Linked DNA regions of Homo sapiens: region 2 is linked to region 1. The links are contacts of gene promoters, found by promoter capture Hi-C in human tissues and cell types (Jung and others, 2019). All regions are on one chromosome and are shown on one strand. The core of a region is centred on a gene start or on the middle of the fragment in contact, and the rest is flanking DNA. Distances in the headings are between cores, read along the strand shown. Region 1 holds the start of SCN5A (sodium voltage-gated channel alpha subunit 5). Region 2 overlaps SCN11A (sodium voltage-gated channel alpha subunit 11).

What was found. Contacts are between HindIII fragments. The study calls those that stand out against the background at their distance.
Region 2: a fragment that was not itself captured here is called in contact with the fragment with the promoter of SCN5A in region 1 in 1 of the 25 tissues and cell types used here (liver).

What each region holds. Positions count from the first base shown.
Region 1 is chr3:38,648,044-38,651,359 of GRCh38, forward strand. It overlaps SCN5A (sodium voltage-gated channel alpha subunit 5), which reads right to left and starts at 1,644. Exons shown (of 28, transcript NM_000335.5): 1 at 1,488-1,644. RefSeq lists a silencer at 1,603-1,762. The HindIII fragment of the contact is 3,470 bases long and covers 1-3,152 here.
Region 2 is chr3:38,982,734-38,986,393 of GRCh38, forward strand. The region is part of intron 2 of SCN11A (sodium voltage-gated channel alpha subunit 11); the gene reads right to left. Among named protein-coding and RNA genes, the nearest start is that of SCN11A, 67 kb to the right of the region's middle. The HindIII fragment of the contact is 6,597 bases long and covers 1-3,660 here.

The DNA of each region.
Region 1 (3,316 bases), core at 394-2,893:
AAAAGTTTAATGAGGCTCTTTTCAGCACAGAGCTGGACACTGTAACATAGAATCTGTGTTCCACACCCTGGCTGTCACCTGACCTCACCCTCTCCATGCTCCTGCAACAGCAGCCTGACCACCCTCATTCCACCTCGCACTCATTACCACCGATTCATATGCACCTGCCCAATTCTAACTGAGTGGAGATGAGGTCAAACAGATGGAGTTGAGGGCAGCGGCAATGGCCTGGGCCCCCAGTAGCTGGGGCCTCTGCTGCTCACGGTCCCACTAGATCCTGAAGGATGGTGGGAACCTGGGAGAGGGCTTGGGATGCCATGGCATGGTGGGGGTCACGTGGTTTGCCATCTGGATGATACTGCCTAGGCTCACTGGGAGACACACCTGGGGTCTCAGCAGGAGGCGAGCAGATGCCTGGGAATGGAACATAGGCCCAGGACCTTAAGAGGAGATAGATCCCATGGCCCGGGGCTGGGCTGAAGGCACTGAGGAGCACAAGAGTGAGTCCTGCACTATCTTAGCCATGGCATCCTGATCTGGCTGTGCTCTGCTCTCCAACAGGTGTTTGCAAGGCAGGCCTACAGCCAGGGACTTGTCCCCAACATCATTTCCCCCCATCCTCATCACCACCACTAACAGTCCCCACACCTCTGGCCCCCACCAGCTCTTGGCCTCTCGGACAAAGCTTGGCACCTCCACTTTCTTCCAGAGCGCCACCAAAGACGATCAAATAACACAGAGGTCGAGAGCCACCTCCCATCAGGGTGCGTGGATCTGTTCCGGCTCAGAGAGAGGAGGGCAGAGAACTCTCTCCAATCTCACCGCAAAGAGATCTCCACCCCTTCGAGAAGCACAGAGATCAGACAGAGGAGATGCGGCCCCTTTAGGGCGTCAAAGGGCACCGAGATCTCTACATGGTCTAAACGCGCAGAGATCTCGTCCCACAGAGAGGACAGCCCCAGCGGACGGTTCCCCCTGGGCCCAGAGAAAGGGGGTGCGTGGCTTCCTCCCCCATATCCAGCCCTGCTCGGTCAGCCCCCGCAAACCCCGCTCTCTGGAACCACATTCATGGCGCGCCTAGTCGCCGCTCTGACCTTGGGGTCTCCGGCCTCCGGTATCCGGGTCCCAATCCCAGACCCTCCCCGAGCCTGCGCCAGGGATGGCCGGGAAGCTGGGGCCGCAGCTCCCCCTCCCCCGGCCCTCGACAGCGCACCGGGAAACCCGGAAGGAAAGGGAAGGGAAGGGGGGCGCACGGTGTTTAGAGACGTCTCCCCCGGGGATACCCTCCAGCCGGGCGGATCTGCGCCCCTTCTCCCCCTCCGGCTCTCTGGGGCACTGATCGGGGAGGGAGCGGCTGGGCGGACCCGGGGCAGGGAGGAGCACGCAGGGACTGGAGGCTTCGGCCCTCGGGGAGGAAAGTTGGGCGGCGGCAGGCGGAGGGGGCTCCGGCCGGGCCAGGGCTGCCGGGCGCGGGGGCACTCGCTCACCTGCTGGTCCCCCGGCCGGGCCCCGGGGTGGGCGGCTGCTGCTTGGCGCGGACTCGGCTCGGCGCGGGGCTCGGGGCACTGGGCGCAGGCTCAGCGGCCCCGGGGGAGCGATCCCTGCATCCTACGGGCGCCGCCGCCGTCTCGGCTCCGCGGCTCTGTTCGGGCTCCCGGGCTGGGCAGGCGGCGCGGGCTCGGGCTGGGGGCGGGGTCGGGGGCGGGGTCGGGGCGGGCCCCGCCTGGGTTCGGCCTGGGGCTTGGGGCCCCGGGCTGGCTCCGCCCCAGAGCGACGCGCCCAGGGCTCCGCACGTGGTGCTCCGCCCGCTCGGAGGGGGGACACACCAGCGCCCGCCGGGGCGCACACTCCCACACTGACCCGGGGGCTCACAGCCACAGACAGCCGCACACGCGGCCGCGGACAGACAGACATAGGCGGGGGTACACACACGGCGACCCGGCGACGCTTCACCACAGATGGCCACCCACGCGGACGCGGACAGGCTCACATTAACAAACACTGGCATACACACCAGCACCCGCCAGAGTATACACACACACACACGCAACCTTGCTGACTTGGGAAGGCTACCAGACACCCACCCACCCACGTGGACACGGGCATACACTGACACTCATGCCGAGACAGACACACGCTGCCATAGGCATACCTGCACTGACACAGACACACACATGCACCCTGAGACAGATACACACCCCCACACACCCACACAGACACAGACAGACACATCATTGACACACACTGACACTGAGGAAGACACTCTGACAAACTTAGACACCCACATGACTTAGACACACATCCACTGACACACTGACACAGAGACACACACACTCACTCGAACCACACTTTCCTGGAGACACACTTAGTGATGCCACAGAAATCTGCACAATGGTACACATCTACCTGAACACACGGACGCACATGCTGACAGAACCAAACACACACCCAGACCCAGAAGCAAGCAGGCAACCAACACAGAGACACCCACACACGCGCGCGCGCAAACACACACACACACATACATATATATACATGTATATACCTCTTTATATATATACTTCCACCCTCTTGAGCCACATACAACCTTCACCTTGACACATGCAGAGCCTGGAGTCACATACTTACACACCCACTGTTTCTCACTCAGAGACATGGTCACAGGCACACACACACGGAGACATACGCTGACAAACAGTTGCTCCCATGCCCATGCCCAGGACCTATGGGGACACACTTCTTGTTTAAACAAAACAGGCCATCAGGGCAACCCGCTTGGGTCCCCTTCCACGCTGTGGAAGCTTTGTTCTTTCCCTCTTCACAATAAATCTTGCGCTTCTAAAAACAAAAACAAAAACAAAACAAAACAACAACAAAAAACAGGCCATCAGCTTTTGCCCACGAAAAAAGTACAGTCATTGGAAGGGATGGTACACTTTTCTGCCACATTTTCAGGGCTCCCAAAAGCAAGAACCGCTCTTAGAGAGCCAAATGGGTGCCAGGGTCTCAGAGGGCACAGAGGTGCTGGGTTTGGGAGCCCAGAGGCTGGGACCTGCTCCTCCATGATGGGGATCTTGAAGAGGTGGGAGGGCAAAGAGGGGGGTGGGGGACAGCGTCCGTTTGCGACCTGGGTGTGGGGCTTCGTTGGACGCCTTAGGTACATACGGAGGGGCTGCTCTGCTTGCAGGAGGGGATCAGTAGGAAAGTCAGTCCACAGGAAAGTTCAGGACATGGGCCTCTCCGGCCCCGAGTTGAGTGGGGTGTCTGGGGTACAGACGGATGGACCACACAGGTCGGCTGCCAGCCTTTAGCGCCT
Region 2 (3,660 bases), core at 290-2,789, 330 kb after region 1:
CAAGGATGGGGTGGGGGTCAGGAAAGGAAAACCAGGAAGGAAGAACTGTGGACCCAGGGTCAGGATCCTGGGCTGTCATGTAACATCTTCCAATAAATGTGATCTTGGGGGAGACCATTTTGGGCCTTGGTTTCCACATCTGCGAAATGTTATTATAGCCATGAACACTTACTGAAAGCTTACCCCATATGCCAGACACATCTTCCAATCAACTTATGTGAGTTATCTCATTTAATTTTCACAACAATACAAAGTAGCGGGGAAAACTTCTGGCTTCTCTTGAAAACTCAGAAAATCTAACAATGTTGAGTATGAGTCCAAAATGTCAGCAAGAAGCCAGAGCTGAATAGGGAAGGCTGTTTTAGATGAGACCATTAGCCACAGACCTCACCACTCTTCTTACTGTGCTACTTATTTCCTTTATAGTACCTGAGTGGTTCCTGCTGCGTGTGGGTTTGTGGCCCCTGCATTAGATGGCCTTCATGATTCCTCTTCACCCCTGAGCTTTGATGTTTTTTGCTCCATGTCACCTTCACCAGAGTGGTCAGGCCATTCTTCAATATTCAGACCTAGGCAAAAGGTGCATGACTTTGAACTCCCCTAGTTAAGTTAAGGCTTCTAGAAAGAACAGGCTTTGGGAGCTGAGGAAGGGTGCTCACTGTGCCCTATAAAATAGAGTTTCAATAGACACTGGGTCCTCTGTGGCCTGACCTCCCCTGTGTCAGCAACTTGAGTCTCACTTGAATGGGGAAAGAAAGTAATAGAGAAATGAACAAGGAAATTCTGAAACCCTCAAGACAAACAAGGACCCTCCTATCATTAAGGTAAAGCCAAGTGTGACCCTAAGGCAAGTTACTTAACCTCTGCGTCTCAGTTTCCTCATCTATAAGTTAATGACAACCTCTACCCCATAAGGGAGCTTGAAAGAAAATCCAAAAAAGAAAGAATCTCTTTGAGTTGCTAATGACTCTTAAGTTTCTGGTTCTAGTCCTTTGACCATCATGACAGTCCTATGGTTTTACGAAAGAACTATCCATCTCTATTTAAAAAACAAAAAACACAAAGACCTTTTTTGCTTAAGCTAACTTGTGTTGGGTTTCATCCACCAGGAAGTTAGAGAGAGAAATTACTTAGAGATAAACTTACACATTACAAATCCTTCTGTTCTGTGTGCTTTTAAAAATGTTCAATTTCTAAATGGGCCTCTGGTGAAGATAATGATCACCTCATTGATTTGTTCCCAGGAGAACAGGGTAAAATGAAGTCCTGCTGATCACATTTCTAAATCTTTTTAGTCCCATTGCTTTGGGAAAGTTTCCACACCAGTCATCCTTCTACAGCCTCCCTCTTTCCCACTGTTCCTTCTCTGCAACCACCAGGAAAGGAGGAATCCCAGAGCAGTCTTGCTCCATGACCATCAGGTCCTTTTCACTCATAATCCTCTTAGACCACATTCTCTAGGAATGTACTCATTCTTCAATGGGTGCCTCCACTGAGGAAGGTGCCCTATTCATCTGGAGACCAACATGTTCAGAGCTGCTAGTATCTGCCTCCTTCTGGCTCTTCAACATTGCATTCAATCTAAAGAGCTCCCCCTACCTTCCCATAATTGTTATTTTAGTTTAAATAAGAAAGAGCTGGTTTCTGTTGTTTGCAACCCAAGAACCCTAAATCCAATATGGCACCTTAGTGGTGAGGACAAGGGGGTAGATGGTAAAAGGGAGATATTGATATTGAATTGTCAAGGAAAGCCTTTCTGAGGAGGTGAAATTTGTGCTGAGCTTTTTTTTTTTTGAGACAAAGCCACACTCCTGTCCCCCAGGCTGGAGTGCAATGTCATGATCTTGGCTCACTACAACCTCTGCTTCTCAGGTTCAAACAATTCTCCAGCCTCAGCCTCCCAAGTAGCTGGGATTACAGGTACCTGCCACCATGCCCGGCTAATTTTTGTATTTTTAGTAGAGACGGGGTTTCACCATGTTGGCCAGGCTGGTCTCAAACTCCTGCCCTCAGGTGATCCGCCCACCTTGGCCTCCCAACGTGCTGGGATTACAGGCGTGAGCCACTGTGCCTGGCTGAAATTCGTGTTGAGCTTTCAATGAAGGCACGCGAAAGTCTGGGGGAGGGAACATTCCAAGAAAATAAGAGCAAATGCAAAGACCTTGACTCAGAAACACATTCAAGGGCAGTGAGGAGGCCAGTGTGACTAGAGTTGAGTGAATGAGCAAGCATAGTAGGAGATGAGGCAGAGATGTAGGCAGGGGCTGGATTATGTATGGTCACTAGGCTGCAGCAGACTATTTCAGTTTTGTGATACAATGAAAGCCACAGGAGGGCTTAAACAGAGGATGACATATTCGGATTTTTTAAAAAAATGTCTTTCTGGCTGGCTGTCTTTTTTTTTTTTTTTTTGAGACAGAGTCTTGCTCTGTTGCCCAGGCTGGAGTGCAGTGGCGCAGTCTCAGCTCACTGCAAGCTCTGCCTCCCGGGTTTATGCCATTCTCCTGCCTTAGCCTCCCGAGTAGCTGGGACTACAGGCACCCGCCACTACGCCCGGCTAATTTTTTTTTGTATTTTTAGTAGAGACGGGGTTTCACCGTGTTAGCCAGGATGGTCTCGATCTCCTGACCTCGTGATCCACCCATCTCGGCCTCCCAAAGTGCTGGGATTACAGGCGTGAGCCACCGCACCCGGCCTGCTGGCTGTCTTAAGAATCAACTGTTAGGGACAGGTGTAAAAATGAAAAGATCAGTGGGGACACTGTTGCAGGAGTGCAGGCTGGAGGTGACCATGGCTTGGGTGTGAGCTATGGCAGTGAAGATGGAGAAAGGCAGATAGATTTGTGAAACCATTTCAAGAAAAAGCTGTCTTACATAATTTGCTGATGTGGATTGTGAGGGGAAGAGTATAATCAAGGCTGAGTCTTGGATTTTGGACTGAACAACAGCATAAATGCATTTGCCATTTGCTGGGATGGTGAAAACTAGAAGAGACATGTTGTTTAAAGTATTAGTCATCTACTGCTGTGTAAGAAATGACCTCAAAACTTAGTGGCTTAAAATAGCCATAAGTGTTTACCATCTCACAGTTTCTATGGGTCATGAATTCCAGAATGGATTAGCTGGGTTCCTCCAGCTCATGATCTCTCCTGAGGTTGCAGTCAAGATGTTAGCTAGTTGGTCTTGGTTGGGACTAAAGGGTCTGCTTTGCAGGTGGCTCACTCATGAGGCAAGGTTGTACTGGCCATTGGTGGGAAACTGCCATTTCTCCCTACCGGGACCTTTCCACAGTCTGTTTGAGTGTCCTATACAAGTGATGTAAGAAAGTAAGGCAAAAGCCACAATGTCTAGCTTTGGAAGTCACACTTTTTGATTTGCACAATATCCTGTTAGTTATACAGATCAGCTGCCTTCATTGTGGGAGGAGACTACACATGGGCATGAATACTAGGAGCTGAGAATCACTAGAGGCCATTTCAATGGACCGTCACCACACCATCCACACTGCTGCCAGAAGGAAGTGCCGACAGAGCCAGCAGATGCGTCAGGGAGGCCAGTCTAATAAAGAGGAACTGAAGAATATGCAGGAATAGGAGTGGAATGATCAGTTTCAGAGAGATACAAATGGATCAAAGGGAATGATTCCAGACACATGGAATGG